3 separate regions of the Homo sapiens genome follow, and all the other regions are linked to region 2. The links are contacts of gene promoters, found by promoter capture Hi-C in blood cells and fetal thymus (Javierre and others, 2016). All regions are on one chromosome and are shown on one strand. The core of a region is centred on a gene start or on the middle of the fragment in contact, and the rest is flanking DNA. Distances in the headings are between cores, read along the strand shown.

The links. Contacts are between HindIII fragments. The CHiCAGO score rates a contact against its expected background, and 5 or more counts as called.
Region 1: a fragment that was not itself captured here is called in contact with the fragment with the promoter of C2CD4A in region 2 in 2 of 17 cell types (total B cells and naive B cells); the score reaches 6.1 in total B cells.
Region 3: a contact is called between a fragment that was not itself captured here and the fragment with the promoter of C2CD4A in region 2, in 6 of 17 cell types (total B cells, naive B cells, activated CD4 T cells and 3 more). The highest score is 7.0, in total B cells.

What each region holds. Positions count from the first base shown.
Region 1 is chr15:61,992,180-61,996,137 of GRCh38, reverse strand. The region is part of intron 16 of VPS13C (vacuolar protein sorting 13 homolog C); the gene reads left to right. Among named protein-coding and RNA genes, the nearest start is that of VPS13C, 66 kb to the left of the region's middle. The HindIII fragment of the contact is 2,331 bases long and covers 1,026-3,356 here.
Region 2 is chr15:62,064,828-62,068,669 of GRCh38, reverse strand. C2CD4A (C2 calcium dependent domain containing 4A) reads right to left here and starts at 1,693. Exons shown (of 2, transcript NM_207322.3): 1 at 1,582-1,693; 2 at 1-1,085. The coding sequence starts at 1,056. RefSeq lists silencers at 1-353, 404-543, 674-723, 1,586-1,880 and enhancers at 954-1,469, 1,870-2,039. The HindIII fragment of the contact is 6,406 bases long and covers 1-3,842 here.
Region 3 is chr15:61,968,680-61,972,743 of GRCh38, reverse strand. It overlaps VPS13C (vacuolar protein sorting 13 homolog C), which reads left to right. Exons shown (of 85, transcript NM_020821.3): 27 at 1-119; 28 at 3,292-3,445. Among named protein-coding and RNA genes, the nearest start is that of VPS13C, 90 kb to the left of the region's middle. The HindIII fragment of the contact is 5,335 bases long and covers 1-4,064 here.

The DNA.
Region 1 (3,958 bases), core at 942-3,441, 73 kb after region 2:
TGAGATTTTGACAGGTTCATATACAGAATTAAGAGATATCCCCTTCTCCAGCTCTTTCCCTGCCAGGGTTTTCTCACATACATTCTGGCCTTCATGAACTCCATTTACTGGTTCCTTGGCCGGAAATACGGAGTTTTTCTCAGGGTTTTAGCTGCCTGTGCAACTGTGCTCCATGTTCCTCTGCTGTGCTCCATGGTGAGGCCCTTGCTCAGGGCAGAGCCATGTATAGTAGTTTTCTATGTCTGTATAACAAACGTAGTGGCTTGAAACAACACATAGCTATTATCTCTGAGTTTCTCTGGGTCTGGAGTCTAGGTATGGGTTAATTGAGTCCTCTGCTTAAGGTTTTAAAATATTGCAAGATGTTGGTTTGGGACTATGGTATCTGAAACGTGACTGATGGAGGATCCACTTTCCTTGGCAGAATTTAGCTCTTCGTGGCTGTGGGATGGAAGGCTCCAGCTTTTTGTTGATTTCTGGCTAGAGCTGCCCTCAGCTTCTAAATATCATCTTCAGTTCCTTGCCTAATGGGCTTCCCAACATAGACAACCATAACATGGCAGCTTTCTTCTTCAAAAGAAGAGAGAAACTGCAGCAGGATGGTCACTAAAGTCTTGTGTATATAACATACACATTGTACACAGAATCAAGTATATTTTATTACCTTTGCCATACTTTATTGTTTAGAAACTAGTTGCAAGTCATGCCCATGCTCAAGGGCAAGAACATTAGAAATGGGAGATTATGGTGGTGGGGTGGAATGGGGTGGGCACAACATGTGAGAAAAACAAACGTCATGGAAAACTCAGTCTTGTGCAGGTCACTCTCCAAATTGTGACCCCTTCTACTATTTGCCTGCTTTGCTTACTTTTCAAAGTCTCGGGTAGATCTTTTTTATATTTTGTTCAGAAGTTTTATTTGGGTTGAAGATGGCTTATGCCACCATGGAACTAAAACTTTCACTGAAATTAGTAATAAAGAAGTAACTTAAGAGCAATTTTTATAGAATAATGTGGGCAGAAGCTTGATAGGAATGAGAGAGCATGAACGACTGGGAATGGGAGACAGTGAGTAGGAACAGTATGATTCTTTGCTGTAAGCAGAGCAGATAAATGGAGCAGTAAGTGGTGGACAATGTGGAGTCAAGAGAAGGTTTTGTAACTTGCTTTTCTTTCTTTAAAAAAATTGTAGTATCCATTTTCAATGTCAGCAGAATCATTTATCTGACATCATTTAAGATAGCTGAATAGAGGCCGATGTGATGGCCCACTCCTGTAATCCCAGCCCTTTGGGAAGCTGAGATGGGCAGATCACGAGGTCAGGAGTTTGAGACCAGCCTGGCCAACATAGTGAAACCCTGTCTCTACTAAAAATACAAAAATTAGCCGGGTGTGGTGGCACACACATGTAATCTCAGCTACTTGGGAGACTGAGGCAGGAGAATCGCTTGAACCCGGGAGGTGGAGGTTGCAGTGAGCCGAGACCATGCCATTGCACTCCAGCCTGGGTGACAGAGTGAGAATCCATCTCAAAAAAAAAAAAAGATAGCTGAATAGTATTCCATTCTGTGCATATACCAGAATTTGCTTCACTGTTTCTCACTGGCTATATTTAATTGTAAGTGACTCTACAATGAATAGCCTTATCTCTGCATTTTCTCAAACATCCCTTATTTTCTCACAGGCAAATTCCCCAAGGTACAAGTTATTAGGTCAGAAAGTATGAATATTTTAAAAGGTATTTGCTACTGCTGGGGATTGTTCCTATGAAAGAGAGGAATGAATCACCGGAGGATAACAATTTCAATCCTCCATGACTTAAGTTGCTTTAGCTTAAATGTGTATTCTTAGTACCAGCTACAGTTGCTTAAAAAGTGAAGAAAGAGAACTAATATTGGGATGCAGTAGACAAAGAAGGATGGATGTAGAAGAGAAGGCAATTTGATCTATCTAACATTGATTTTTTTCATTGTAATGGAAAGTACATAGGGCCTGAGTTTAAAATGTAGGCGGAGGATTGGCTGAAGTTATTTACCATGGGCAACTTAGTTGGACAGAGAAGGAAGTGAAGGCACCAAGGGGGTAATTGAGGGAAAGGGAAAGCGCTCTGCATCCGTCTTCATCTTAGGTCTCATTTGTATATTTTTATTTATTTTTGGTCTCATATATATATATATATGCTTTGAAATAACTATAGGTTTACAATAAGTAGCAAAGATAGTTCACAGAGGTACTGTGTACCCTTCACCTGTTTCTCCCAGTGCTTACATCTACATAATATAGTACAATACCAAAACCAAGAATTTGACATTGGTATGATGTGTGTGTATAGTTCTGTGACAGCTCTCATATTTTTAAATATTAATTCTTATTTATTTTTAAATGGTAATTGACAAACGTAGGAAAACTTTTCTTCACTGTTCTTTGTTACTTCATTTTCTTCATAGCCTTTCTATGTTTGAAATTAGTATTTTTGATTGTGTGCTTTCCTAATTCATCTCTTTTTCTCTTTATTATGTGTAAAATTTTCAGTTTATTTTTAAATTCCTTGAAATTTGTAGCATGCTGATCACACCTTTAAGATTTCAACGCTAATGCTAATAATGGCTTTATCTTTCTTTTAAAGGTTTTCAGATATTTAGGTAGAGACTTGGGAGGAAGTTGAATGTTGGGGTTTGTCGCCATACTATCTTGATTTCTCTTAGGATATTTTAAAAAGGTTAATTTCAGTTAATTTTTTTTTCCAAAATAAAATGGCTTCTTTACCCCAAAGTGTAAAAAAATATATTATCTATTTTTATAAAGAATAATTTTTATGGTAGCTAAGAATATGGTAACAATGAAAAAATACAATTTAGTGCCTGCCCTTTTAAAACTTAAAGCTATCAGTTTGGTTAAAAGAGATGTTAATAAAATATCCAAATGCTTTTTAGCTTTTTCTGCTTTTAGATTTGTAAAAACTGTTCATGAATTCATCTGTTTATTAAGTCTCAGTATCTAAGAGAGGTTCAAACTTGAAGTTTCTGGTTGCATTTTCCCTAAAAGAATTCATAGAAGATTCTTAAAAGTGGAAAAACTCAGATGATATACATTTAATTGGGTGTCATTTCCAAAAAAGCTCGGTTTTATCTACTTGTGAAACTGTTGAAGCAGTTAATTCCCTTTATCATGATCTCTGCTGTTGAAGGAAACTAGTTTGTTGTCATCTCAGTGGTTCTGAACCTTGGCTGCATGTTAGAATCACCAGGGGAATTAAAAAAAAAATACCTCTTTCTTGAGAGAGAACCCACTCTCTCAAGATTTGATTTAATTGTTGTGTGGTGGGGCTTTGGCTTTGGCATTTTTTCTCATAAAGCTTCTAGATGATTCTTTTGTGCAGCAAGGATTGAATACCACTGAGCTGTGGTATCCACAGTAGCTGATTTGTCATTTACTTTCATCTTGCAGTTTCAAACAGGGCTTGAAAATGTATATACTCATCCCTAGCTTGTGACAAAAGTTTAACATTTTGCCCATCCTTAGTCTTTACATTCACCAATCAAACCTGTTCTCTTTACTATAGAATTCAACTCTTTACTTTTATCTTCTCTTTTGTATTATTCCACTTTTTATTACACACAGAGGCTTACAATATGTTACCGATTCACTACCAATTTCAAATACTTTAAGTGGAAAAATTATTGAAATTTACTTATTCAGGGAATGAGAACATATAATCTAAATTACTTATCCCCTTTATTTTGTTTATCCCTGTATTCTGCCTTTTGGTTATTCATCCATATTTCTCTGAAAAGTGGGCAAAGAGAAGGAGTGATAGAAAATCAAGTCAGGATTTGTTGAGAAAAGAGGGTGAAATTAGATTTAAGGACTATTTTAATTTATATCCCTCCTTCTGCCACTGTCCTAGTTAGCAAGCCAGCATTGTATATGAATTCTGAAATATAATTGTTTTAAATTAA
Region 2 (3,842 bases), core at 444-2,943:
CCGCTCCCGGCCGCGGCCCTCGTCCCGGGCCTTGACTCGAACGGCCAGGCGGCGCACTTCGTCCTCCGAGAGGCCGTCGAAGCAGAAGTCCTGGTCAAAGGAGGCCTTGCGGCTGCGCCCCACCACAGTGCTGCATTGCCGAAGCGCGGTGCCCGGCGGCCGCAGGACGAGGCTGAGGCGACAGCTGACGGCTCGGGGCCCGGGGGCGCCTCCGGCCGGGCTCTCGGCGCGGAGCAGCCGGAGGCGGAGCCGCCCGGTTCCCGGACAGTACTCGGCGGCCAGGCGCAGGGCGTCGCCGGCGCGGCCCAGAGCCACGGTGCCCTCGGCCTCCAGGCGCTCGGGAAACGGGACCCGGGACGACGGCGGGCTCGTGGAGGGGGCCCGGGCCGGGGACTGGGAGCCCGCGCGGCGCTCCTTGTCCTCGTTCCCGCTGGAGACGGAGCGGACGCGGGTCAGGCGGCGACTCCTCCCAGCCCGCAGCGCGCGACTCAGCAGCCCGTCGGGGACGCGCAGGAGGCGGCAGCCGCGGGGCCGCCGGGCGAGCGCGTCCTGGGGCGGGCGGGGACAGCCGGGGGCCGCGGGGGTCGCCGGGCCCGGAGCTCGCGGGACGCGCAGGGTCCCCAGGAGGGCGTCCGGGCCGCCGCCGCCGCCGTAGGTGTGGGCCCGGGGCCGGGGCGCGGGCGGGCCCCCGAGCAGGAGCGACTCCTTGCGGCGCGTGTGCGGGCTCTCGAGCAGCGCGCAGAAGCCGTAGGCGGTGCGCACACGGGGCAGGTGCGGCAGTGACAGCGCGGCCTGCGAGCGCGGGTCCCAGTCTGTGCGGCCGGCGCCCTCGTCCATCCCTGCTTCTTCGACCCAAGAATTCCGGAGCGCAGCCAAGGCCAGGCGGGGCATGAGCCGTGGCGGGATGCAGAACTCAGGGATGCGGTCCGGAGTGAGCACATTTGCGCACGCGGCGGTGGTGCGAGACTTGGCTCCGCGGGCCCGACCCGGGAGAAGCCAGTCTCCGCTCCGCCGAAGGCACTCAGGACCCAAGCGGAGTCGCTCCAGGCACCACATCTGGCCACTCTCTGCTGGAGCTTGTCTACCTGCAGTGCACAAAGGCACAAGGATCGTCAGAGCGAGTCCCGCAAGGTGCAGTAAATCCTGTTCCTTTTCTCCTATTAATACTTTCGGGGTGTTTCTTCCTGCCTTTCCCGAAACAAGGCAAACTGCTCTTGCTTGCCGCTATTGCAAACTATTTTTTCAGTGAGCGAAAAACAACTGTTTTTCTTTTGTCCTATCTCAACTGTGTTGTAATACACACTTCGGAGCTTGTTTTAATCCCTCTCCGCCCTGGCTGGCCTAAGGCAGAGATTCACAAAATGCTGGATTGTAACTTCAGTCGCTCTGTTCTCTGTGCCAACGATTGCCTTGCAATCGTTTCCTGACTCTTTGGACCATAGCAGTCTAGTCCTCAGCTAGAATTAAAGTAATTGTTATTCCTTCCGGGAAACTGTGGCTGGTTCTCCCCTTGCAGAGGCAAAGAGCCTCAGACGAATCCCCCAGGGAATTAAGCAAGCCGATGGGTCCCTCCTAAAATACCTGGAGTCCTGCGTCAGATGGGTCTCTGCACCTTTCTGCCTGGGACACCGACCAGGAGAGGCGCTTAGCGGCTGGGAAATTCAAAGCGCGCGCGGCGGGGTTCAGCACCAGTGTTCAAGGACTGCCAGCCTGAGCTTTTATACCTGCCGCTGGGAGCGCTTGCCAGTGGGCCGAGCAGAGGGGCGCTGCCTGGTAACCTGACGCCAGGCTCTTCCCTGTCCCTCTGCCACGTGGCTGGATTTGCTGAGCAAGGTTTGGAGACCCAGTTCTTTCTCTCTCCGGCTTCAGGTGGAGGTGTTTTCCTCGGAAACCCCGAACAAGTTTCTGTTTCCTCACATGCAAAATGGTATTAAGTCTCTACTATACCGCAGAGTCATTGTGAGGATCGACGGGCGTAATGAATGTGAGCACGTAGAAGTACTCTACATTCACCATTAAAATGAAGACAAGTCCGGTTTGTCTTATTCTTGCCTAATACCCTTCCCCAAATCCAGCTTCCCAGTTGCCCAGCTTTCGAAGTTCTTTACTTGCTTTCCGGTTTTCAGTTCTGATTTTAGATGTTCTTTTCTGATTATAAACCCCTCTGGGTTAGGGGGAACATTTCATGTCTTGATCAGGGTGGAGTTACAGAGGTGTATCCATATGTAAAAACAATCAACTAGTGTACACTTAAGATTAGAGTACTTTATTGTATGTTATACATCAATTTAAAAAATCACAATCTACTTCTTAAGCCATGTGTGCTGATTTTTTATCGGGAAAATGTACACTTGCATGCATCTGGGCAGTTGGAATCATCCTTTGGAGGCGCCCTGACTACATCTGGCCTTTCTAGGCTGTGCCCACCAGAGAGACCCTTTTCCTTCCTTTTGAAAACTAACCTGTGTTCATTTTGTAAGAGAGTTGCTTCCAGTTAGCTCAGGCTGAAAGAGATCTGAGGCATTTTGTTCAGCGTTCAGGCAGATATTTCTGCCTAAGATACTGCCTTGCAAACTATTCACTTGTCTAAATAATATTTAATGAATTAAATTGAATTCATGCAAAAATGATTTCAGGATAGGGCATGTGCATTTTGTTTCCAGGACACACAGGCACTGTGCTAGATGATTTACATATAGTCTGTAGAACTGTCACAGAAACCCTGCATATTCGGATCATCCTTATTTTATAGATGAAAACTCAGTTTCAGAGGTCAAGTATCTTATCCAAGGTCACATAATGATGGGAAATGGAGGAAATCATACCTACTAATGGGTATAAATGAGCTGTTTGGGGAAATAATAATGTAAAATATTTTGCACCATGTAACATGGTAAGTGCTAAATACATAGAACTGATTATTATTAATAAAGATAGAAGGAAAGTTGTAAAGTATAGTGGTTAAGAAAATTGGGTCTGAAATTGGATCTACTGTTAATGCCAGAATGGTTGCTATGTGACCTTGAGCAAGTTAACTGTTCTAAGCCACAGTATCAAATTTAAAATTAATAATAGTGTCAACCTATACGGTTATCATGAGTATAAAGTAAGATGGTGAATATGAAGAGTTCAGCATAGGGCATGACATACACAATGTCGGATATAATATTATTATTACAGAAGAGAGCAAATGCTCATTAGTTCATTCATTCAAAGTAACATGTACTGAATGTTTTCTAGGTTCCAGCCATCATGTTAGGCAAGTGGATACAGGTTGGCTGTACAAGATCATATCAGCTATGTAAATCCATAAATGATGGAGTAAAATGATGAGGATAAACTATTTGAATTCCATCTGGGTGAGGCAGGCGTGAGAAGAGACTACCGAACATTATTTATTTAGTTATTTATTTTTAAGACAGGGTCTTACTCTCTTGCCCAGGCTGGAGTGCAGTGGTACAATCTTGGCTCACTGCAACCTCTGCTTTCTAGGCTCAAGCAATCCTCCAACCTCAGCCTCCCAAGTAGCTGAGACTACAGGCATGAGCCACCAGGCCCGACTAACTTTTTTTTTTTTTTGGAGAGATGGAGTTTCAACATGTTGACCAGGCTGGTCTTGAACTCCTGGGCTCAAAGTGATCCGCCCACCTCAGCCTCCCAAAGTGCTAGGACTATAGGTGTGAGCCACTGTACCTGGCCTGAACATTACTTATATGTTTCTAGTAGGGGGCAGGATTGGTGGGTCTCTGGATTTACTGTGTCCTTGAATAGCTATTTTTTTTTTTTTTTTTTGAGACAGGGGCTCACTCTGATGCCCAGGCTGGAGTGCAGTGGTGCAATCA
Region 3 (4,064 bases), core at 1,043-3,542, 97 kb after region 2:
ATGCTGAAGATGGAGAACCACAGACTTGTAAAAGTATGAAAGGATCAGAACTTAAAAAAGCTGCAGAGGTCCCAAATGAGGAGCTCATCAATCTTCTACTCAAGTTTGAAATTAAAGAAGTATGTGCTTTTTTGTCTATAAATAGATATATTCTGGCTGTCACTATCTTGTAAGCTATCCTCAAGCTAGACCCAAATGTCAAGTATATTAAAAATGTGGTACTCTGTCTTTCCTGCTGCCCAACACACATGCACATACACACTCTCACACACACTCTTTCTCTCTCACACACACAGAGATTTTTAACAATGAAATGCTTTTAAAAAAACTGATGTAAGAATGATCTGTGGCATATCTAATTTATTCTGGAAGAGCTTAGACTTTTAATTAGAACTTACTTTTCTGCAGAAAATTTTTATGACATGCCTACTTTAATTTTTTAAACTTTTCACTTTTAAGCTAAATAATATTGCTCATTATCATGTTTATGATTTGGAAAAATGTAAACAACCTAAATTTCCAACATACGTTTACAGCCTTTAAAAGTCATGTGGTAAAAGGAAACATGGAGAGATGTTCACGGTATGTCATTATTTGGGAAAACAAAAAGATTATAATACCAAAGATATTATGATTCCATATGAAGTTATATTTATATGTTTTCTTTGATAAATGACAGACAGTGTTCATCTCTGGGTGGTGAGATTACAGGTTTTTATACATGCCTGCTTACTTTTACATGTATTCCAGATTTCTATAAAAAATTTGTCTTGCTTTGATAATAAAACAAAAAGGATAGAAAATGGAGGTGTTCCTTATTGACTGTTTCATGTGCCATAGTGAGAGCATGTCCTAAAATATAATGTCAGAAATACTACATTTTAACTGTGTGTACACACCTAAGTACTATTGGTATTTGTTTAGAGAAAGGTATGTTCTTTACTGTTAGCCTTCTTCAACTTCTCTCTTTCTCCATACTACATCCAAAATATCATTAAATCCCATGACCCTAAATTCAAAATGCATTCAGATGATTGCTCTTCCTTTCTGCTGCTACTGTACTGTCTAAGTCACTGTAATCTTCTTCCCTGGATTATTTTGCAATAGCCTCTTAACTGTCTTTGCTTCCATCAGGTACTCTGTTCTGTCATTTGCCAGATTGATCCTTTAAGAGTGAATGTCAGGCCGGGCATGGTGGCTCACGCCTGTAATCCCAGCACTTTGGGAGCCCGAGGTGGGTGGATCATCTGAGGTCAGGAGTTCAAGACCAGCCTGGGCAACACGGTGAAACCCCATCTCTACTAAAAATACAAAATTAGCTAGGCGTGGTGGTGGGCACCTGTAATCCCAGCTGCTCGGGAGGCTGAGGCAGGAGAATTGCTTGAACCTGGGAGGTAAAGGTTGCAGTGAGCTGAGAGTGCACCACTGCACTCCAGCCTAGGTGACAGAGCAAGACTTTGTCTCTAAAATAAAATAAAGTAAAATAAAAATAAAAGGGAATGTCAGATCATGTTACTACTCTGCTCAGTATCCTCCACTGACTTCAAATGTCACTAAAAGTAAAGGACTAAGTCCTTTCCATGGCCTACAAGGCCTTACATTTGTAACACCTCATATGACTGGCCAGTTCTTTCCTGCCTTGCTCACTCTGCTTCAGCCATATTCCATCTATCCCTTCAATAGGTATTGATCATGTGCCATTATTACCAGACATTATTTTAGGTACTGGAAAATAGCAGTGAGTTAAGTTCTTGCCGCATGGAGCTTACACTTGTCTTATGTTTTTCCTTCTGTATACCAAAGCACATTCTTTGTGCTTGCTATTTCCTTTGCCTGGAACACTCTTTTCCTGCATGGCTTGATTTTTTTTTTTTTTTTTTTTTTAAACTAACTTCAGGTATTTGTTCAATTGTCATCTTATTGGAAAGATCTGACCACCCAAGACAAGACAGCAACCTTCATTTTCTCCAACTTTCCCTAGAATGTAAACTTCATGGTGATAAAGAATGTCTTAATTTGTTTTCTGTTACTATAACAGAATACCCCAGCCTCCCAAGAGGCTGAGATTACAGGCACATACCACCACACCCAGCTAATGTTTTACATTTTTTGTGGAGATTCGGTTTTACTATGTTGCCCAGGCTGGTCTTGAACTCTCGGGCTCAAGTGATCCGCCTGCCTTGGCCTCCCAAAGTGCTGGGATTACAGGCATGAGCCACCGCACTTGGCCTCTTCTTTAAGTATTTTTAAAGTGTTACCTAAGTATGTAATTATAACATCTGCTAATAATAATATTTTTTGCCTTTTTTCAGTATTTATATTATTCTGGTTATTATTGCTGCCTATCAAGTTAAATAGCTTAAAACAACTATTTTATTTTGCTTACAGGTTTGTGGGTTAGGAAGTTTGGAAGGGCTCACCTGGGTAATTTTGTGCATAGTCTTTCATTCGGTTGCATTCTGATGTTGACTGGGGTTGCAGTCATCTGAAGCCTCAAGCTGGATGTCCATGTGGCTCACTTATGAGGCTTGCAATTGATACTGGCTATTGGCTGGGAGCTAGCTGGGACTATTGACTGAAACACCTACTTATGGCCTCTCAGCATGGTAAAAGCCGTGGTAGTCTGAGTAGTTGAACTTTTTACATGGTGGCTGGCTTCCCCCAGTATGAGTGTTCCCAGGTAGGAGTTTCGTGGTCTTTTATGACACCGGAAGTCCTTATAGTATCAGTTCCTTTCTACTATATTGATTTAAGCATTCACAAGCCTGCCCATATTCAAAGGGTGGAGACAAAGATCTACACCTTTTGATTAGAATATCAAAAGCACTTACATCTTTTAAAAATTACCACGTTTTATTTTTTATTGGCTAAATATACAGGCTATAATTTCCAGAGTTAACTTAAATAGTAGTATGATAGAGAACATCTTGTCTTACTTTCTACTTTAATGGGGATACTTTAAAAAAAATTACTAAACATGATTTTTGCTTTGAAATACAGGTTTAAGAAAATCATATTTAGGAAGAATCTATACATTCCTATTTTACTAAATTAGAAAAAGTAAACAATGAAGTTAAATTCTGTCATGATTTTTTTATAAATGTATTTATATTCTCAACAATAGAATTTAAGTTTTGTAATTTCCAATTATATTAAATTGCTATGGTGGCAGAAGGATATGAGCAAAGTTACTATTCTCATGGTGATGTGTATGGAGAAAGATTTTGTTTTCATTATTTTAAGTATGATTCAGACTTCTTATCAACTTTTCATTGACTCTAATTCTTTTAGGTGATTTTGGAATTTACTAAACAGCAGAAAGAAGAAGATACAATTCTAGTATTTAATGTTACTCAGTTAGGAACAGAGGCCACAATGAGAACATTTGACTTAACTGTGGTATCTTATTTAAAGAAAATCAGCTTGGATTATCATGAAATTGAAGGTAATACCCATAAAAATAGAAATAATAGCCTATAATAAAGATAGGACTTTTGAGTATCTGAAACACTTTCATTTATATTGTATTTATAATAAATAATAGCTACACTGTTGTAAGCACTTTACAAGTAATAACTCATTTAATCCTTATAGCAGTGCTATGGGGTAGGCAGTGTTATAATCTATGGTTTAAATGTAAGTAAACTAAGTCACAGACTGATTGTATTAATATAATTTACTAATTGTCACAGGGCTAGTAATTGACTGAACCATGATTAAAACCCTGGAAATGTGGCCCTAGGGTCTGTGCTCTTAATTAATATTACCTTTTGCCTCAGAGAGTCTCTAAAAATCCCCTTGATATGGGGAATATTATTCCTGTTTTATAAACAAAGGCTAAATAAAGATTAAGTGGCTTACTGAATATCCTGTATTTAATGAATGACAAAACTTAAGAGTTTATCTCTGATCATATGTTATTGAAGGCCTTGTTCTTTCTATTAAATAGTATTCATATACCACAAGAAACACCAGATTATAAAAATAAAAATGATAGGATGTAAAGTTAGTTCTTTCAGAAACTCTGATTGTCATATACCACAAGAAACACCAGGTTATAAAAA